Regions from separate parts of the Homo sapiens genome. Here all the other regions are linked to region 3. Evidence: promoter capture Hi-C in 16 types of primary human blood cells and fetal thymus (Javierre and others, 2016). All regions are on one chromosome and are shown on one strand. The core of a region is centred on a gene start or on the middle of the fragment in contact, and the rest is flanking DNA. Distances in the headings are between cores, read along the strand shown.

Evidence for each region. Contacts are between HindIII fragments. The CHiCAGO score rates a contact against its expected background, and 5 or more counts as called.
Region 1: a contact is called between a fragment that was not itself captured here and the fragment with the promoter of DSG1 in region 3, in 1 of 17 cell types (monocytes). The highest score is 5.1, in monocytes.
Region 2: a fragment that was not itself captured here is called in contact with the fragment with the promoter of DSG1 in region 3 in 1 of 17 cell types (monocytes); the score reaches 5.4 in monocytes.

Annotation. Positions count from the first base shown.
Region 1 is chr18:31,007,649-31,010,408 of GRCh38, forward strand. DSC3 (desmocollin 3) reads right to left here. Exons shown (of 16, transcript NM_001941.5): 10 at 621-877; 11 at 368-510. Among named protein-coding and RNA genes, the nearest start is that of DSC3, 34 kb to the right of the region's middle. The HindIII fragment of the contact is 4,708 bases long and covers 1-2,760 here.
Region 2 is chr18:30,987,258-30,990,079 of GRCh38, forward strand. DSC3 (desmocollin 3) reads right to left here. Exons shown (of 16, transcript NM_001941.5): 16 at 2,108-2,822. Among named protein-coding and RNA genes, the nearest start is that of DSC3, 54 kb to the right of the region's middle. The HindIII fragment of the contact is 5,568 bases long and covers 1-2,822 here.
Region 3 is chr18:31,316,787-31,319,502 of GRCh38, forward strand. DSG1 (desmoglein 1) reads left to right here and starts at 1,374. Exons shown (of 15, transcript NM_001942.4): 1 at 1,374-1,562. The coding sequence starts at 1,515. The HindIII fragment of the contact is 11,545 bases long and covers 1-2,700 here.

The DNA of each region.
Region 1 (2,760 bases), core at 133-2,632, 310 kb before region 3:
GATCATTTTGACCTAATATGCAGCTGAACTATATAAAAGCTCAATTTAAAGTGACACAAACGGATGTGGAAGAGTCTGATGAGACCATTTTATCTAGTTTTAGATTTCAGTTTTATTTTTGTCCTCTAGCATAGAAATACATAAGAATTTAAGGTCCTGCCCTATTGGGGATATAAAGATAAATAAAACACGGCTTCTTGTCACCAAACAGTTTCACCTTGTTAGATAATTAAGAGAGACAGAAAGAGTCTTTAAAGTAATTTCAAAGAATTCCATACACTTACCACCAAAATAAATCTGCATAAGAATAATTACATTTTATTCTCTAATTCCTTTATAGAATACCAGATTAAAACTTTTTTTTTACCTTTGTCTATTGCCAGGACTGTAATATTATACAACTCATTTTTGGGAGTTTCAACCTCCCTATCCAGGATTTTGGAAGTTATGATTGACCCTGAAATTTCATCAATGGTGATCCAACCTTTAGGATCATGCAATTTTTTGTACCTGTTAATAAAAAAAAAATAGTCTTTAGCATCAGAAAATGTTTTCAAATAAGTTACTATCTCAATGATTACAAATACATTATTAGTATGTGGTTATAGATTTATTTTTACCTTAAACCATTGCCATTTCTATTTTCGGGGTCATATGCCTTATAGCCGTTGATCTTTGACCCCACTGCTAAGTTTTCTTTAATCCGCACATATTGGGCTGCAGGAGTGCATTCAGGCCCCTCATCCAGATCCCTCACATGAACTGTAACCAAGGCTCTGTTCAAGGCTGTCACTCTGGGAATATCTCTAGCAAATGGCGCTTCATTGTTTACTCCAATTTCCAGGTTCACTTGACGGTTTTCTTCATAATTCAGTGGCTTTAAAATAAAGTCCATGTATATCAGTGTCAGTGTAAAATACATCTGGCATTTCAAATGGCAAGTGAACATTTGTCATCCTGACCAGTGCTGCATAAATTCTATGTTCACATGTTGTTAATACTGACTTTTATCCCTTGCTAAACAGAGAGTGGATCCCGTGCTAAGCCTCTACCAAGAATGGTCCAACAACTTCTGCAGGTAGTTTCATAGAGTTGGACAAACGAAATTCCGGAAATATTTTCATATTTCACTCTTACTAAGGAAAATTACTCTGATTCAAAAAGTAATGCAAACAGATGACAGTATTCTTATGGTCCTGCTTGGAGCACTGTCTAACAGGCTGGGCTAACGGTCATCTGAGTATGGGAAGTTGCCTTTATTTGGCTTATCAGTTACTACTGACTATGGCCCAGGCATTTTATAACTCTTGTAAAGTTTGATGTTGACTTTCACAAAACCAAAAGGTGCAATGATTTCATTTTCTGTCTCATAGAAAAGATATCTCCAGTATTTTATTTTCTTTTATTTTATTTTTGAGACAGAGTCTTGCCTCATTCTGTCACCCAGGCTGGAGAGCAGTGGCGCAATCTTGGCTTACTGCAACCTCTGCCTCTTTGGTTCAAGCGATTCTCCTGCCTCAGCCTCCCATGTAGCTGGGACTACAGGCACGTGCCACCATAATCAGCTAATTTTTGTATTTTTTTCTTTAGTAAAGATGGGGTTCTGCCATCTTAGGCTGGTCTCGAACTCCTGAACTCAGGTGATCCACCTCCCTTGGCATCCCTAAATGCTGGGATTACAGGCGTGAACCACCATGCCCGGCCCCAAATGTGTGTTTTAATTGCCCTCTAAGGCATCTAACTGAGCCATCTAATTGCTGCTTTTCTTTTATCAAAATCCATCCAGAGTCTCATTTCTTCTTAGGAATCAACTTGTCTTTTTGCTGGTTCCTTCATGAATGAGTTAAAACCTTTATCCATCCATGCCCACTACCTGTTTTTATGAAAATTACATTTTTGAAAACTTGAGAATTATACTTTGGCATTGTCTATAATTTATCCAATGAAACATTCACAGTGGATACACAGAGGAGTAAGGGAAATACTATGTGATTGATTTTAATTATCATTGAATCTAAGGCACTACTCTAACAGTGAAAATAAACTCACTAAATCCTCATGACATTATGAAGTAAGTATTATTGACCTCATCCTCATTTTACAGAGCAGAAAACGGGAAAAGGAGATAAACTGATTTTTTTTTAAGACCAAAAGATAATCATTTGAGCTTGAATTTGAAGCCAGGTAGTCTGACCTGAGTCCATTTCCTTAGCCTACGCTATAATCCCTCTGCTATCGTGTGCTGCTTAATTGGCTCACTGATCTCTAAAAAATTTCCAAATCAATCTTTGACTAAAATTCAGTTTTAGATAACAAATCAAGTAAAACCCATAAAACATTATGTTACACTGTACTATAAAGTTGAAGCACTTTTTCTTCAATTTCTCTTTCTGCTTATCAAAACAATCACTGGCTAAACATTGAACAAAATCAAAACTGGTGAATAAAATTATTTTAAATCTTTCTCCACACCTAGGTATTAACAGAGTAAGACATTAGTATCACGAGTCCACTAAAAAGTCAAGAAAGTTTCTGAATCTTAGAATCTACAAAACATATGTAAAACCTTTTTTTATTTTGTATGTATATCCCACAAACTGGAGAGTCAAGGAAAAAAATATTAATATCTGTTCGTTTGATGCTGATGAATACTGTTTCACACATTTCATGTGCTGGTGTGATCACACAGAGAGTAAGAGCAACTGCTGGCAATGAGAAATGGATGGAAATTTAGAGAACAGCTGCTGCACTGGAGGAGGT
Region 2 (2,822 bases), core at 31-2,530, 330 kb before region 3:
TTCGGAAAATAAAACAATAAAATCAATATAAATTATGTGAGAATTCAGTAGCAAAATACTCAGACCCCTTGTGGAATCATATTGCATCTATTAGTTTGAGCCAATAAAAAACACTGGTTTATAGTGTTCATAGTGCGTATATTCCTCCCACTATGGTTGCATTGTGCATGGGAGGCAGAGAAATATTCTTGAACGGCTAAGTAGCAGCTGTAGCTTTCTTCAAATTGGTTTCTGAAGATCCTTTTCTCTTTGAAGTTGTCTTTAGTAACAGTCCTGGCACTGTCAATGAGTCTGTCCAGCCCCAAGTGTCTATTCCTGTTTGTTCATGGGCGTGGGAGAGGTCTGAGTCACTGAAGGGTGTGTCCCCCACTTTCTTGTAGATACTTGAAAAGGAGCCATGCACACTGGTGCCCAGAGGCAAAGGCAGAACACCTGGAGGACTCACGTGGAACTTACGTAACCCACCCCCTCCAAAAAAAAAAAACGAAAAGTGCAAACCAGTTTATCTCAAAAGGAAATGTTTCTTGCCTCTCTTTCATTAATTTCCAGTTGTTTTTTTTGTTTGACTAGTGGCTAAGAATCTCAGTTCACTTCTCCTATGTTCCAGAAATTAACTTCTCTTATTTTTCTGTTGGTCAGTTTCTATTTAGAGTCCTAACTGAACCAAAGTAGTAGAGATAAATCTCAGTCTTTTGGGATTTTTTCACCCCAATGTTTCTGAGGCTGAGTGTAAATTTTGCCTACTCCTGTGGGGTAGTAAGAGTTCTGGGTATGACCATCTGGTGTTTGGTCATAAACTTGCACAGGTGGTCACTGAGGCAGCTCTTACTCCAGTCATGGTCACCTGGGAGTTTCAGACCAGGAGTTTCCATGTTAATTTTATGGTTTACTTACATAGTAGCTAAGAAGCACTGAGAGGCAAAGTTGCTTAAATGGGATGGGAGCTGGGCAATAAGAACAAATCAAACACCAGAAAAGAAAAAAAAGTGTTACAGAATGTTTGTGTGTATTACAATCTCATGCTTTTGGGGAGAAAAACTAATTTCTTCCCCATCTTCCCAGGTGCCCATACTAAATCCTGTGGTCTGTCTGTTCTCTGGAAGGTAAAATGTTGCGCAGCCAACAGACAGGGACAGAAGCTCCTGGGGAGGGTCTCTTGAAACTCAACAAAGCACAGTCTGGGAGAAAGAACATCTTATATAGAGGCAAATGTGATCATTTTTAAGTAGATTTGATGCTGCTACTTTTTTGGTGAATTTATTTTAGAGCAGAGGCTAGTATTTTAGTGCAAGCCACTCTCAATCATGAATATAAAAAGTCTAGGCAAGGACTCCCTAAAGATGTTCAGTGGTGTTACGCAGAACGTGTTCTGGCACAGGAATGTAGCATGTTATTTTCAGCAGACATTACCCTCCAGAATGGATTCTATTTTAGACAGCATGCTGACTAACGCATAGAGCAGTTTGACAGAAACATGGATCCATTTAGACAGTTCAGATCTGAACAACAACAGATTTTCAACTCGTTTCAAATTTTTAGAAGGTTTTACCCTTTTGAGTATAGTAGAATTATGCTTGGATTTATAAATTTTTATCCAGAAGGTATTTTCCAGCTTAAATAAAATTAAACAATTTTAATTTTTCCAAAGCAAAGTTAAACTAATTTTTAAAATTATTTCATTAAAATTATTTTAATAGGAATTACTTTCTGCTTATATTTTACAATAAAAATTGAATCATTTGATTAATTGGCCCCTTATATAAAATTAAACCATTTATAGTATTTGCATTGTCAGTTTTCTTTGTGACCATTTATGCTAGCCAATTTTTATAGCTGTAAATTTTTGCCAAGAAGATATGATGCTTCCACAGATAACAAGTATTTGTACATACTGTTATACTTATTATCAGATCTATTTTTGCTTTATCTCATTTGATGTTCCTTTTAAAAATACTCATTTTGAATTTGATAGAAGACTGATAATCATATTTGTTTCTGAGTAAAGCCTGAACAAGTCCTTTCAGATATTCTAGGATTTCATTCCCAAGTAAAGGGATGCATGAAAAGTCCTCATTTCAGTGAAAGAAGCCAGACACACAAGGCCACATATGTACGATTTCATTTATATGAATGTCCAGAGTAGGCAAATCCATAGAGACAGAAAAGATATCAGTGGTTGCCAGGGGATAATGCAGGGAGGGGAAGAGGAGAATGACTGCTTAAAAGGTTTCCTCTTGGGGTGATGAAAATGTTCCAGAACTAGATAGTGGTAACAGTTTCACAACATTTTAAATGTACTAAAGTCACTGAATTATACACTTTAAAATGGTGAAAATGATGAATTTTAACCATTCATAGCCATGTTTTATGAATTTTACCATTTTTTAAGTAAAGGGAAAAGAAGGTTCTGAGATTCAAACCTTTGCAATCAAAATAAACTGTCGAATACAGAAGCCCGTAAACATGTTCTGAATACTATTTAATTTTTCTGCCCATGAAACCAAGCCTAATTCTAAATAATATAAGAGCCAAAATAAACTGTCTAAGCTGGTATTAACCTTTTTCTTAAATTAAAAATGTTATCAGGTTGATAGGTGCAGCAAACCACCATGGGACACGTTTACCTATGTAACAAACCTGCACATCCTGCACGTGTATCCTGGAACTTAAAATAAAATAAGTGTTATCAATGTTCATTGTGAAAAAATCAACACAGAAAGAATAAATTATCAATTCCATTGTCTGGAAATCATGTTTCGGGATTATATATATGCACAAACTTTATTTCCCTAAAAAGAGATGAGATATTGTTCGGTAGTATA
Region 3 (2,716 bases), core at 124-2,623:
GAGAAAATCGGCCAGCTCATCTTTCTAAATTTTATTTATTTACATCTGCTATTTACAATCATAAACATTCTTATTCACTGCAAATAAACATGGGCAGCCTATCTCCTCCCCTCCACACTGTATGATGGATAATATGGAAATTCAAACCACACATCTTCTTTGCCACAAATCTGTAGTGAAATGACAGCCTTCTATAGACCCTCTGACCCTCAGAGATTTTCTTCCTTTTGGAGACATTTTGAGTATCTTTTTGACCATAATCAACATCTTATCAGGTAGGTCTCTTGTTCTAAGTAGCCGTTTCAAACTCTGAGGGTGTCCAGTGTCTATGAGCTTCCTGCCACTCACAATATTTATACTAGACGTTGCCAGGGGAAGAGAAGAGAGTCCAAAAATATGTCCAAATGCTGCCCTGTGAAGGTTGCTATTTATTTTCACAAACCTCAGGGCTGCATTCAGTTTCCCGTCTACCTGTGTAGGCAGCCATTTCTTCAGTGTATTCCCTATGTTCTAATTGGCTCGCTGTACAGATTCTTGGCTCTGTGCTTAGGAATTGTCATTGACTTTTAACCCACCTCACCTGCTGAGCAGCTTTCTGTGTTTTCATTAGTATTTCAGGCACCGAATCTCATTTTTAAAGTTATTATCAGGATTTTAATTGGTGGTTCTCACTATTCACCCTTAAGTTTAGTAATATTTAAATTTTTATTTTGTTGCATTTAATAAAAGAATCATAAAGAAAGAAAAATAATTAGGGAGAGAAAATAATTTCTTTAGAGGGAAAATGGAGGATTCCTTAGACTGAAGGCTGGTCAGTTAATGGGAATTGTGACTTATGCAGAGGATCTAATAATTGTAAGTATCATGGTTTTACTTGTTTGAATTAATAACTTTAAAAAATCTCAGTCTTGCATTAGCATATTTTCTGTCTCTTAACAACCGAAAATAACTGAAACTTTCCCAACATCTACTAAAATGGAAAGTTTGTCATTTTCTACTATGACCTGAGGGTTTGGCTACAAACAGATAATGGAATGAATAAGATGAGCATTCAAGTTATACCTGCCTGTTTAATATGGGGAGAAACTAAACCACCTGTAAAGAAAGCATGGGGTGAGAAGCCCCCATCACCTGTATAACCCTCGGTATTTCTGTTCACTTTAAGAGCCTGCCACTGAAAACATTCAGTAAAGGAGTGAATCTTCCTTGCCCCATCAAGAGTCGCTTTTCAGCTGGAGGAAGGGTGTGTCCCCAAGTTTTTACCTGGGAGCAATGATGATCTTGTCAAGCATTTCAGTGAGACCAGCCCAAGTTTTTAGGGTGGGGATCCAGACTGGTTATACGTACCTTCAGTCCTTCTCCCAGAGGAAGGCAGAAACACCTCAAAGCCTGCATGTAAGAACATCTACTGAGAAATTATTTTAATCAGACACCAGCTGAGTGGGAGAAAGAAAAAGAACAGAGAAGAACAAACAAAACTCCCTTGGTCTTGGATGTAAGAGAATCCAGCAGAGATGGACTGGAGTTTCTTCAGAGTAGTTGCAATGCTGTTCATTTTTCTGGTGAGTGGATTCTGGTAAAAGTCCTTCATAATCGTGCCCATTGTAAACAAGTGAAAACTTTTTAGAAAATGTTAGTGGGCATTATTTCTAACCTAAACCCATTGAAAATGTATATTAATGACAAGATGATTTTATGAACTAGATTTTTCAATAGCATTTCTCTCTTTAATTGAAGACTCAAGATCATGTTAATGCCTCAGTGTCAACTCATTGTATTACATCTCTGACACTGAAGTCATTGCTAAGTCATGCTGGGAAAAGACTGAATTTAGGAAATTCCTATCGCTAGTTAGTAGCACTTTGTCGTTCAAAATCTCTTCTGCAAGAGGGCTTTTAAACTAAATATCACAAGTGTGTCTGGATTTTTAACCTGTTTTTTTTTTTATTTTTTTTGTGTGTTTGGTGGTGGAATTACTCTAATTTTTAAAACATAAAAATAGCACCACATAATTTAAAATCGTAGCAGTTTGTGGCTGGTCTCGCTATCCAAATAAAGTCATCAGTTGCATATTTGGTTAGAATCTGTATCACTACTATAAAAAGCCCCGCACTATTTAACTATGATTTTATTTAAAACATTTTTAATTTCAAAAAACGGCAGTACAGGAGGTTTATAAATGACATATTAAGTGAAGAAGTGGCTATAATTAAAGAGTAAGTATAATTATTATTACACTCGATCTTACTACTGGAATGTCAGTGATGACTGCGATATAAAAGTTGTGCACTTGATCGTCTGACGAATGTAATGAAATACTTTATCATTGCCCCCTTACATGTAATTAGTTTTCTTGCTGTAGAGATAATACTAAGTGCACCACTAATGTATTATGTCAATTTCACTTTCAGTGAAAATTTGAAAATTGTAATCTCTCTCATAGTAAGGTTAATGTAATTCAAAAAGGCAGGTGCCAAGTAAATTGCCCTCCAGCTTGGCAGGATGTATAGTGCTGTGGTTCACATTTGTTTCTACTTGCTTAATTTTTGAACTGGAATGTTGGGTTGGTTGGTATAATAAGTTAGATCTTTGATTCAAAGTATGCTGGTTAGTTTGAATTCAGTTTTATTAACTAAGGCGGGACATAATCAGTGGATTTAGTTATAAATGAGCATCAGTAAGCTGGTGGCTTTGGTTCCAAGCTTTCCTTCAAACA